Regions from separate parts of the Homo sapiens genome. Here all the other regions are linked to region 4. Evidence: promoter capture Hi-C in human tissues and cell types (Jung and others, 2019). All regions are on one chromosome and are shown on one strand. Each heading gives the region's core, a stretch centred on a gene start or on the middle of the fragment in contact. The rest is flanking DNA. Distances are from core to core; before and after follow the strand shown.

Region 1 (3,042 bases), core at 50-2,549, 770 kb after region 4:
CTAAGTCGCTGAAACTACAGGCTAAAGCCACCATACCTGAATACTTATTTTTTCTTTTTACTGATTTTTTTTTTGTAGAGATGGGGTCTCACTATATTGTCCAGGCTGGTCTCAAACTCCTGGCCTCAAGTGATCATTCTGCCTTGGTCTCCAGTCCCATTCTCATCTGTTATTATTTCTGAGTAGCCAATAGGTTGCCTGGATTATACATGTTTATTGGTTCTGGCTCTGTTAGCATTCTAAAGATTTCAGATTTTAGTTCTTGTTTCATTAGGAAATTTCCAAGGAGACCAAAAGAACATGGCCATTTTTAATACAGTTATCTCTTATTTACCATTTTTACTATAAAACTCCACCAAGTTCAGAATTATAGTTACGTAAACCACATGAGATTTTAGAGAGTTATGATGTAGTAATATAGTCATGCATCGCTTAACAATGAGGATAGTTTCTGAGAAATGCATTATTAGATGATTTTGTCATTGTGTAATCATCAAAGGTGTACTTACCCAAACCTACATGGTATAGACCACTACACACTTAGGCTATATGGTATAGTCTATTGCTGCCAGACGACAAACCTGTACAACAGGGTACTGTACTGAATACTGTAGGTAATTATAAATTATGGTAAGTATTTTTGTATTTAAACACACTTAAATATAGAAAAGATACATTAAAATACAGTATTATAATCTTGTGTGACCACCATTGTATATGTGTTCTGCTGTTGACTACAACATCATTATGTAACACATAACCGCAATTACAACAATAATAAAAATAATACTCAACCTTGACCTATCTATAGTGCTATATAGTTTGCAAAATGCCTTTAAATGTTATCTCATGCCATCCTTACAATCATACTGGGAAGTAGTTAAGACAAGTACTATCATCCCCAATTTACAGATGAGAAAATTGAGGCCCAGTAAAGTGAATTGATTGCCTAAAGTTATATATTTTGAGCAGTCTCATATCCACGATTTCTGCTTCTGCCTCCATATCCTTTGTGATAATCTGGTAAATTTCCAAGTATTTCTGTAGCCATTTTCTCAAATAACTCACAATGGACACTCAGTTTTTAGACTTTATGTCTGGAAGAACACAGGTAGTGTCTATGGTTACAATTTAACATGACATAATCAATGGTGAATAAGAACTTTCTCTATGCAAAACAAATTGTGTAATTTTACTGGAAGAAAAAGGAATGGTGAAAACATAGCTCTTGCCCAGAAGAACTTAACTATTTAGTAAAGGAGGTAGATATACTGATAGCAAATCACAAGTAAAAGCATGCTGAATTAAGAATCATAGCAAATACACATGCACACATCAGGATGAAGAGAGGGAAGAGAAATTACTTCTTATTAAGAGACTGGTGAAAGATTATAAAATAACAACACTGTTAGGCCTTGAAGAAAAATTATTGATAGAGAAAGAAGAGAGAGAACAGATTAAAAGAACCACCATCAGAAAATGTATGCATGCAAGTACCTAACATGCTTGCACATTGGCAAATATTGTAATTCCCATTTTATGTAACACATCAGCCAGCATAGGCACAGGAGCGTTTATCAGCTTCTCTAAAGTTTTAGATCCTGAAAGCACTAGATGTAACTTGCTTCTCAATCTGATGTTCTTCCCACAACTTTAACCAGGTCCTGAGAGGCCTAACGTGTCTTTTTATTCAGGGCTCAACCACTGAATTTCCAGATGCCTCTTCCACTCTTTCTCAAAGATTCACAGGGTGACAGTGGTTCACACATCTTTGCAGCCAGTATCCACTTCCCATTGTAAGCCATCTGTTCACATTAGTGAGGAAAAAGAATCTGTACCTTACCTCTGTTTGTTCCTACTTATCCCTATTACCAAGATCCCACAGAGCAAATGGCCTTGTTATGTGGTAGAAATAGGCAATAAAAATATGTTGCGTTTGGCATTCAGAGTACTTTAGAACCAAGAAACTCCAAGTAGCTTTTAAAATATTCATCATGTTTAACCATATTTAATCACCGAGTTAACCCATGGCTAAAGAACACTAGACGGGGAATAAAAAGAACTGGGTTCTGGCCACTATTCTGCAAGGTCACCCTTGCCAAGCTTTTCCTCTGTGAGCCTCAGGTGCTCATCACTTAAAAAAAAAAATCATGAACCAAAGCTCATGGGCTGTAAGATTCTGTGCTAATTGTCTAAATGAAGGAATCACAAGGGCATCAAATACAAAGATTTGGTTACACTTCAGATATCTTTGGCAGGCTTAGAATAAGCAACCAATCTTTTCAAAAGAAAAGTTGTTTTACTCGTTTGTCCCAGTGACTCTTGGGGGAAAATTGCTAAAGAATAGAGACAAAGAATTCTGTCTTTGAGGTATTCTGTCCTTATCAAAGTCAGTCCAAAAATTCATTTTTGTATCTGATCTATGTTTGGAGTCAGTTCTCTCTCTCTCTCCTACTTGCTCCTCTGCCTTTCTTCTTCCTCATCTATTATAAGGCAATTGTAGCATAGTGAGCAACTCTGAATATTAAAGACAGACAAGCACAGAGCCACAGGATTTCATATAGCATTTGTTACTTCCTTGCCATATGGGCTTGCCTGAATTACTTTGCTTCTTTCTGAGGCTTGGTTTTCTTATCAATTAAATGGGACTAATAATACTAATTTATAGAGTTGTTGTGTGGGTTAAGTAGGATGAAGTATTTAAAGAGCCAATATAATGCCTGGCAAAAAGAACCCAGTAAAAACTCCAATGAGAAAATCGGTTAGATATCCTTCCCTTTCTATTTTTAGAGGCAATCAGTAAAGTGACTGAAAGTGAAGTCAGACAGACCAGCCTTCAAATTATGCCTGCACAGCATCTACTTACCACCTCTAAACCTGAACTTCTTAAGCTAAAATGGAGATCACTCTTTCTAATGGGAATTTTTGGGAATGTAAAATAAGGTAACGACTCTGTAATACTTTGTGTCTGGCTATATACACAGTAAAGTTTAATTATTTTCATTGTCACTGATTATTCATTTATTACCTCATTTGCATTCT
Region 2 (3,220 bases), core at 586-3,085, 710 kb after region 4:
TCCCAGCTGCCTGGGAGGCTGAGGCAGGAAAATCACTTGAACCCCCGGGAGCAGAGGTTGCAGTGAGGCGAGATCATGCCACTGCACTCCAGCCTGGGCGACAGAGTGACTCCTTCTCAAAGATCAAATAAAATAATTAAAAATATATATATTATTCAGGCCTAGTCCTTAGAAATAATACTTGTCCATAGACTAGCACATAGAAATAATATCATTAATATTTATAATATATGAATAACTGCTAATGTTTATCAAGAGGTTAGCATATGTCAGATTCTATTCTAAGCACTTTTCACGCACTAATTCATTTAACAGTATAAGAAACCAATGCAGTAGGTATAATTATATCCATTATGCAGAACATTTAAGTACCTTAGATACTCAATTACGTGAACATTTCTTTTCTTATCCTTGCAAACTGCTATAATTTTACTCTAAAGTTTTGCTCACCTCTTGCCTTCTGTCTCTTCCAAACCATCATTTACAAGGCTTCCAGAATTATCTCATAAAAGCCAAGGTTACATCAGGCCATTCCCCTGATGGTCCCATTTTCTGCAAGAAAGAGTCCAAGCTCCTTAGTCTGTCCATTCAGCGCTTCTTAATCTGACCTCAGCCTGTCTTGCATGTGTGTTTCCACCCTCCTTCATTTGCCCTGTGCCCTAAATCACCTCTGGAGAGCTCAGATCTCTAAGCTAAGTTTAATGATGTTCTTCATCTCATAACATCCTTTCCTGAACTTGTGTGCTGAAACAAAGCAAATATTCCACTGAAGCCTGATTATACATAGGCCAACTGAACATCATGTCCTACCTGGAATGCTGAAATAGTCTTCGGCCTGATTTTTCTACTTCTACACTTGACCCTGCCCTCCCAGAAAGGTCCTCAACTGTAGCCTAAGAGAACATTTTTTGAAAAGTAAGTCAAACACAATTTACCTATGTAACAAGCCTACACATGTTCCTCTAGACCCTAAAATAAGAGTAGAGGAACAAAAAAATTCAAATCATGTCACTGCCCAGCTCAGATCTATGACTGGCTTCTCATATAATCGGAATAATATCCATACTCCTTACTTTGCCCTCTAAGACCCTACGTGGTTTGCCTCATGCCTTCCCTTTCGCCTCCTCTTCTCTGTGCTTCTTGTTCATTCTTGTCAACTATGTGGTTATTCCTGTTATTTTGAGACCACGAGCTCACTCATTGCTCATCCATTGTTGCTTCAACAGTCTTCTACTTATTCTCCAACCTGGACTTTTGGTTAGATCTCTCCTTGACGTTATTCACATCCATGCTCAAATATTATGCTTTCAAGATAGGACTTCTCTGGTCTCCGTATTTTGAATGTTCCCTGTTCTTCCATATATTCACTAATTCCATACTGGTTTATCTTTCTTCATAACATTTCTGCCACTTGAAATCATAGTGTATACTAATTTGTATATTTCTTTCTAGACTGCCTTCACACTCATAAGTTCTAAGCTTTATTAGATTTAAGGATTTGGCCTATTTTATTCTTTGTGTTTTCTTAGCAAATGATACTGGGTGCATCCTAAGTGCACCAGCATGGCACATGTATACATATGTAACTAACCTGCACAATGTGCACATGTACCCTAAAACTTAAAGTATAATAAAAACAAACAAACAAACAAACAAACAACAAAAAAAAAGAATTGTTGAATGAATGCTGGTCCATGGAATTTTTCCCTTTACTCTAAGACAAATTATGTGTTCTTTATCACTTTGCTTCTCCTCAATGGATAGTGTTGGCTAATTCATACCCCTCAGTTCATGACAAATGTTTATGATCCATCCTTACAAAGATATGTTTCTATATTATTTATTTTATTCCCATGTGCCCCCATTTCCCTCTCCACATCACAGGGTTTAATGAGTACCCTTTTGTATTAGTCTGTTCTCACACTGCTAATAAAGACATACCTGAGACTGGGTAATTTTTAAAGGAAAGAGGTTTAATTGACTCACAGTTCCACATGGCTGGGGAGGCCTCACAATCATGGTGGAAGGGGAATGAGGAGTAAAGTCACATCTTACATGGTGGCAGGCAAGAGAGCTTGTGTGGGGTAACTCCCCTTTATAAAACCATCAGCTCTTGTGAGACTTATTCACTATCACAAGAACAACATGGGAAAGACCCATCCCCATGATTCAATTACCTCCCACTGGGTCCTTCCCATGACACATGGGAATTATGGGAGCTAAAATTCAAGATAAATTTTGGGTGGGGACACAGCTAAACCATATCAGCTTTTGTTTATATGAATTTTTGTATGTATGTTATTATTTTGTAGTTAACATATTTTTAATATGTATAAATGAAAACAGTATGATTCTCATTCTATTTGTCCTGTTTTCTGGACCCATCCATGTTACTATGTGCACATCTAGTATGTAGTGTCTCCTGACCTTCTGGTTCTCCATTGGACAGCTGACATATCTTAACCTGCCTCATTCTCCAAGGAGGTGCTCCCACACTCCTTGCAACAAATCCTACAATGAACACCTTTTACTCATCCCTTTGTGTAGGTCCATGAAAATTCTTTCTTTCTTTTTTTTTTTTTTTTTTTTTTTTTGAGACAGAGTCTCACTCTGTCACCCAGGCTGGAGTGCAGTGGCACAATCTCAGCTCACTGCAACCTCTACCTCTTGGGTTCAAGCAATTCTCCAGCCTCATCCTCCCAAGTAGCTGGGAATACAGGCACATGCCACTGTGTCCAGCTAATTTTTGTATTTTTAGTAGAGACCGGGTTTCACCATGTTGGCCAGGCTGGTCTCGAATTCCTGACCTCAGGGAAGATTTGTGGAATGGGACTATTTCTACACTTAATCTGACTAGGCATAGTTGCAATGCTCTCCAGAATGCCTATACATCTATTCTACAACCAGTGGTGCATGGTGGCTTCCTATCCTCATATCTCTGACAACATTTTCCATGATTGAGCTTTCTAATTACTTTTTCAATGCACTTTCCACATTATGGCACATTATGGTGCACAGTACTTCATGTTATCTGGTCACCATCTCTGTCATTGCTGTATGCTGTGCCTCCTAAGGGTGGGGTTACACTGTTATTTTTGTATTCCAAATACAAAAAGTCTAGTCCAGTGCCTGTCACAAAATGTGGACTTAATAGAATGCGTTAAATGAAAGAGTAAGCTATATTTCTTCACTTTAGCTCAGCCCCATCTAGAACATGTAT
Region 3 (3,415 bases), core at 843-3,342, 550 kb after region 4:
ATTAAAAAACAATGAGAAAGCACTACACATCTATTAGAATAGTTGAAATCCAAAATATTGACATCAGATGTTGGTGAGGAAATGGAGCAACAGGAACTCTCATTCATTTCTGGTGGAAATGCAAAATAGTACAGCCACTTTGGAAGATAGTTTGACAGTTTTTTACAAAACTAAACCTTCTCTTAACATATGAATCAGCAATTATATTCCTTAGTATTTACCCACAGGAGTCGAAAACTTTTGTCCACACAGATATCTACTTTATTCATAATTGCCAAAACTTGGAAGCAACAAGACATCCTTTAATAGGTGAGCACATAAATAAACTATAGTATATCCAGATAATATATTATGCAGCACTAAAAATAGATGAGCTATCAAGCTATGAAAAGGCACAGAGGAAACTTAAGTGTTTATTATCACGTGAAAGAAACCAATCTTAAAAAGGCTTAATACTATTTAACTATATGATATTCTGGAAAAACAAAACTATGGAGACAGTAAAAAGATTAGTGGTTGCCAAGGGATGAGGGAAGGGAGGGATGAATAGGCAGAGCATAGAGGGTTTGGGGCTGTGTAAACTATTCTTTAATATGCTTAATAGTGAATACATGTTATATACTTACACACTTGTCAAAACCCATGGAATGCACAACACCAATAGTGAATAAACTTTAATGTAAACTATGGACTTTGGTTGATAATAAAGTGAGATGTAAGTTCATCAATTGTAACAAATGTACCACTCTGGTACAGGATATTGATAGTGGGGTAGGCTGTACATGTATGGAAACAGGAGGTAAACGGGAACTATCTGTACTTTCTGCTTAATTTTCTGTGAACCAAACCTTCTCTAAAAATAAATTTTATTAATTAAAAAAAATAGCATTTTAAAATATATATTTATTGACAGACAAGTTCTGTTGTATTTGTGTATAAATATATTTAAAACTTTTTGAAAGCATAAAACACTTTTAAAAATAAAAATGGCATGCATTCATGTATTTAAATTTAAAAATGTTTTAAACATTTTTTCTATTTGATTAGCTGAGCATTAAATTGGAATAACCATAATAATTATTCTTGGCACATATTCGTGTACTTTAATCAGTTTCTTAAACATACGTATTTCTCTCACTGTGTCACTGCTATTGTTTTTCTCTGAAGAATACACTCTTCAATATGGTCTTATTGTTTTTCTCATAAATAAAGTTTGTAATCTTTTTCAAAGTTTCATGTTATAGTTAACATATTTAAAGTTTCTGACATCATCTATGGACCACATGCTCTGTTTTATAATTTCAGTTGAGAACATATTCTCTCTGTGGATGTGAAATAACTCTAAGCCAAGGGCAAATTCTTAAAAATGGAGTATATTCTTATATTTTTGATGTTAAAATGTATAAATATTTCAGTCCAAATATTTTCATAGCTATTGTCTTTTTCCTTCTATTCAGAGAATTTTACTGACAAGTATTTCAGAAGACAAAACTTGTCAGTTATTGCTTTATATATCTTTTTTTAATACTTTGCTAAATCTGGTTGCTGCAAAATTGAGGGCTTTCTTCAAGTCATTGCATTCCAGTACAGAATATATTTTAGATACTCTGAAAGTTAAAAATCTGATAAATTTTTGGCATTCATACCATTGAATATTGTGCAAAATATTTTAAACATGCAGCCAAAATTTAAAAGCCTCATTTGAAAAAAAAATAGTTTACTATCATTTTTAAAACATTCAGATTGATATACAAAATAATTTTTCCAGAGCTCAAATACTTCTAAATTTGATTTATGATGAGCATCAAAGTGCTAAGTGTGCACTGCTATTCTAATGAATATTTTTGTAACTTCTTGGAAATAATGAATTATGAGGGCATCAACAGCAATTTCTAGCATATTTCTTCACTGTAGGCCTCTTAATTTAGTAAAAATATAGTTTTCACCATGATGTGCTCTATGAAGTTTGTATTCATATTATCACTACAAAAACAGCTAATTTTATTTTCAATGCTGAACTTTCATCTGAATTTACAAAGCATTCCCTAAAATTTCAAATGTTTCACTCAACAAAATGAACTTATAAAAGCTGTATTTTGATTTTAATCACCATAATCAAAGTCATAATCATAATAATCATCATTATCAAACCATTATTAGAATTAGCTAATTTTACATTTATAGCATCTGGTAATACCAACACAAAACTCACTTTATACACCTAGCTGTGAAGCTTTTCCAGTAGTAATGGAACCAGTGTGTTAACAGCTATCACTTCACTTTATATTTGAAGGAAAAAAATCCTTCAAATAAAAAAAAATGAAAGAAAATGGAACAATCATTTGATCTCAATGAAAAGTCATGCTTTGCAAATGGATATAGAAACATTTTCTACTGCAGTCTCATGGATTAAACAATTGTTTGAGGATGAATCTTATGGAAACTAACTGCTAATTTGAAGTAAATCTGATTCTTCTTTAAAATGTGCATGTCTGCTTTTTATGGTCGATGATACCATTATGTTCTTTTATGACAGATGATAATGCTTACAAATATTTTTGAAGATGATACTCATCACCAAGTTTCTTTAGTAACTGAAATTCAGTAGTAATTTTTAATTAACCATTTGCTTTCTAAAAGCTCATTTCTTTAATAAAAACATTTATAAAAAAGAAATAAAACGGTTATAGGACATTAAAATCAATAGAATTTTTAAAAAAACTACTGTAGTGAGTGTGGTCAGATGCATTTGTACTCTGTCACAATTCCATGTACCTATGAACTACAGTCTCTCAGATTGCCCATTGATCCTGGCTACTAGGTCCTGAGAAATTTCCAGCATCTTGTAGGCCACTCTGTTGGGTACAGTGCAGATGGCTATTATATTAATAGTAAATGGCCCACAGGGCAACAGCGGTACCTTCCCCACCACAATCTAACATCTAAGTGCCTAAGTGCATTTCTTTTTTTTTTTTTTTTTTTTTTTTGAGACGGAGTCTCGCTCTGTCGCCCAGGCTGGAGTGCAGTGGCAGGATCTCGGCTCACTGCACTAAGTGCATTTCTTCAAGTCCTTAAAGAAGAGCACTGTAATATAACATCTGCAAATTATCTAAAAAAGAATGATAAATTATTGCTGGTCATTCTACATGTGTAGTCACTGGTTAAAGTAAAATTTCTGTTAATTGTGCATGTATCCAACATGCTGTTACTTGAGATAATGACAGAAATTACAAGTACAAAATAGAGGTTCCCATTCTTGCTTGTTTTAATGCAACAATTAGTGATAATATTTTGTTATAAATGAAAAAATAATCCAGAGCAACTTCTAAATTGGATGGGAAACCAAGGAGTCAAGCATAAAGCATGACCAGGCCCTATAAACCAGGAGATGTAGATTCCTCAACTATACACCAGT
Region 4 (3,244 bases), core at 122-2,621:
TCTTCCATTTTGTTTCAAGACTCCTCTTCCTCCAATTAGTTCACTGGCTCCTAGATTGTTCTAGGCCTCCCTGGTGGTCACATCTCTCTCTTATCATCCTTTGAATTAAAAAACAAACAAAAAACATACAATGGCAATCATAAAAGCAGACAACATGCACTGAGCACTCACTAGGTGTCAGGGAGCAGTCTAAGTGCCTTTGCATACATTAACTCATGAGCAGTCTAAGTGCCTTTGCATATATTAACTCATTACAATTCCACATCAACCCTATTAGATGGGTAGATATATTATTATTCTATTAAACAGACAAGGAATTGAGGCTTAAGGGGTAAGTGATTTCACCAAGACCAGACAGCTACAGGACTCCAACCTCTCTGGAGCCTGCACTTCTACTGAATCTGGCTCTTTTACATATTCCAACACCTTTTCCTATGACTTCCTGCCCCTCCATCTGGTAGCCTTAATGCTTTCTATTCTTGCCTAATCTTCAGGGGACTAGGGATCTGCATTGCTGATTTGGTTTAAATCAGAAGGGAAGCAAAGTAAACAAACATACCAAATGTGCGCTGTGTGGGAATTATCATACGAGGGCTTTATTTTCTGCTTCAGGAAGAGGCCCTATGTTAGCAGCCCCAGCCTGCATTCAGGCTGATTGCAGAGTATTTTGCTTTTTATTTTCATGTCTTAGTCCCTGTACCCTCGCCCCTTCCCCGCCTCTGGTGGTCTCCAGAGAACTTCGTGTCCCCTCAGCTTCTCCCTCCTACATCCTGCCTACGTAGAGAAGCTCTTGCTTCATTCTGGGAGGTTACGTGGGCTCTCGCCTACACACCGAGAGAAACAAACAGTGTCAAACACTCACAGAGAGACGCGCAGACACAAACGGACCCACACGGGCAACTCCCGAGACAAAACCCACACTCGATGGATCCACGCGGCCGTGGAAACACCTGCCGCCCCAGAAACACTCAGGTACTCGCGACACACACAGTACAGTCACGCTTAAGGGCACCAGGATTCCGGGTTTGCGCGTATGCGCGGTCCCTTTGGATGCTCGTGCGCATAGACACAACACCCTACACGCCCCAGACCCACGAAACTCCCTACGGCTCAGCCCCAGCCCACCCGGGCCGCCCTTCCCTCGAGGCGGCCTCCCGTCTCTCCTCCTCTCGCTTCTCCTCCTCCTCCGCCTAAAGATGTACAAAACACTCCTCGGAAGCAACCCCGGCGTTCAGCTCCTCCCTCCCCGCCCCCCGGCCGCCGCTCCCCCATTCATTTTCGGCCGTCGCCGGCTAAGTCCCTCCCCCGGCGTAGCCCGGCCTCCGCCGCTCCCCGCCCGGAGACCGCGGCGCACTTGGACTTCCCTCTCCATTCGCCAGCCGCCTCGCTCCCGGACCCCACGGCTGCAAACTGATCTGGCGCGCGGGGAGGAGGAGAGCGCAGGCGAGCGAACCCGCGAGAGAGGGAGAGAGCGAGCGAGCAACAGCGAGAGCGAGAGCGAGAGAGCCGGGAGGCAGAGGGAGTAGTGACCGCCTTCCGGAGCCGGGATTCATGCCTGTCCTCGGGACCAGCGAAGGGGACTTTACGGCTGAGTATGAGCCAGGCTGCTAGGAGCCAGGTACCCCCACGCCTGCAGTCCCCGCGCCGTGCCCGGAATGCGAGCTGCACGCAGGGCTCTCCCAAGTTCCCACCGAGCCGAATAAAAAGCGTCCTCCCGCAGCTCTCCGCCAAAGACGGACATTGACTCCAGGTAAGGCGGCGCCGGGTGCAGCGCCCCGCAGCCCCGCTGCCCTTGGACCCGGCCCCGGGCCGCATTCGGGGCGTCCCCGCGCTCCTCTGCCCCTCCCCCTACCGGCACCCTTGTCCGCTCTTCACCTGGCCGCCCCGCCGCCTCCAAGTCTTCTCCAGTTCTAGGGAGGGGGTTCCTGTGCCTGGGGCTCAAAGGGCTAATTGCGGGTTTGAGTGAGTGGCGTGTGTGTCCCCGCGCGCTCCCGACGTGTGCACCATGGTGGGAACTTGATGTGGTGCTAGTGTGTTTGCGTGTGCGGCGTCGTTTGCGTTTGATGCGTGTGTTCGTGGTGTGTGTGTGTGTCCGTGTGTGTAAGGGAGGGGTGAAGAGAGAGAGGTCCTATAACCTACTTACGGCGCGATGTGTGTGTGCATGTTTGTACGTATGTGTTTGTATGTGTGCCCTCGTGTGTCTTTTTAATTAGGTCTCTCCAGCTTACACGGAATGGGACCCTTACTATAGGATCACGTAGTCACCGGGAAACCCGCTGTGGACTTCCTCTTGGGGCTCTGGGCTTGGGGTTTGGGGAGGATTATGGGGCTGTAGATGGCACCTTATTTAGCCCAATGTTGGTACGCTTGAAGGAAAATTCCTCCAAACGGTGGAATCCTGCTACACTGGGACCCACAGCTTAATATGAAAGAGACATGGCCAACCCCCGAGGCAAATGAGACGCTGTCACTTTAAATTCTACACTGGGCAGACTCCAAGATTCTGATGGGAATTTGGAGACACTGGATAGTGGGTGACAGAGAAAGGGGGAAGTCAGCGGTGGGCTCCTTATCTGGGGCTTGGAAAGTCTGGGATAGGGATTTACCCTGCATCCCCGTTTGCAATCAACAGAGCCCCTCCGGCTTCTGTTGGTTTTGGGGAGGATCTGGCAAGTTTGCATGGATCCCCCTCAGGGGAAAGGAGAAAGCGTCCTCGGGGACTTGCTCATCCATCACAGTTGCAAAGGGTCTCAGAGGAAATTTCATCTGGGGCGGCTGTGGATGATATGGAAGGAGATGGATGGGGCACTTTCCTAAGACAGATTCGTCTTTCTTTCCCCATTTCAGGCGGGGAAGCCCCCAGAGAGTCTCTCCCTAAATATGCCTCTCCATGGCTCCCCTGGAGTTAGGGGGATATTGAGAGAAGGCAGAGAGGTGGAGAGGGAGAGAGAGAGAGCAAGAGCGAGAGAGAGGGAGACAGAGAGAGAGAGTGTTTCAGTACTGAGGGAGATCTACAATTTGAAAAGGGGCTGTGAGTGTGGAACCCATGACAGAATGTGGCAGTAATTGACTTAAACTGCTGTCGGTTTGCACCTCGCGTCTCTCACTTGGCTCCAAAATACTGCCAAGGGCAGGGGGGCGGTGGAGGAATCTCAGCCAGGAAGGTAGTTTGGGTCAAGGCCCTCTTTCTTCTTTCCTCCATCTCCTGGGAGGCTCTTTAGGTAGGTCCCTTGGCCACCCTGGC

The links. Contacts are between HindIII fragments. The study calls those that stand out against the background at their distance.
Region 1: a contact is called between a fragment that was not itself captured here and the fragment with the promoter of BRINP1 in region 4, in 4 of the 25 tissues and cell types used here (H1 embryonic stem cells, adrenal gland, mesendoderm cells and 1 more).
Region 2: a fragment that was not itself captured here is called in contact with the fragment with the promoter of BRINP1 in region 4 in 1 of the 25 tissues and cell types used here (H1 embryonic stem cells).
Region 3: a contact is called between a fragment that was not itself captured here and the fragment with the promoter of BRINP1 in region 4, in 1 of the 25 tissues and cell types used here (H1 embryonic stem cells).

Annotation. Positions count from the first base shown.
Region 1 is chr9:118,597,640-118,600,681 of GRCh38, reverse strand. No RefSeq gene overlaps it. Among named protein-coding and RNA genes, the nearest start is that of LINC02578, 81 kb to the left of the region's middle. The HindIII fragment of the contact is 6,788 bases long and covers 1-3,042 here.
Region 2 is chr9:118,657,153-118,660,372 of GRCh38, reverse strand. The region is part of intron 3 of LOC102724929 (a long non-coding RNA gene); the gene reads left to right. Among named protein-coding and RNA genes, the nearest start is that of LINC02578, 21 kb to the left of the region's middle. The HindIII fragment of the contact is 7,495 bases long and covers 1-3,220 here.
Region 3 is chr9:118,819,271-118,822,685 of GRCh38, reverse strand. No RefSeq gene overlaps it. Among named protein-coding and RNA genes, the nearest start is that of LINC02578, 140 kb to the right of the region's middle. The HindIII fragment of the contact is 8,112 bases long and covers 1-3,415 here.
Region 4 is chr9:119,367,562-119,370,805 of GRCh38, reverse strand. It overlaps BRINP1 (BMP/retinoic acid inducible neural specific 1), which reads left to right and starts at 1,371. Exons shown (of 8, transcript NM_014618.3): 1 at 1,371-1,750. RefSeq lists enhancers at 407-927, 928-1,450, 1,451-1,972. The HindIII fragment of the contact is 11,628 bases long and covers 1-3,244 here.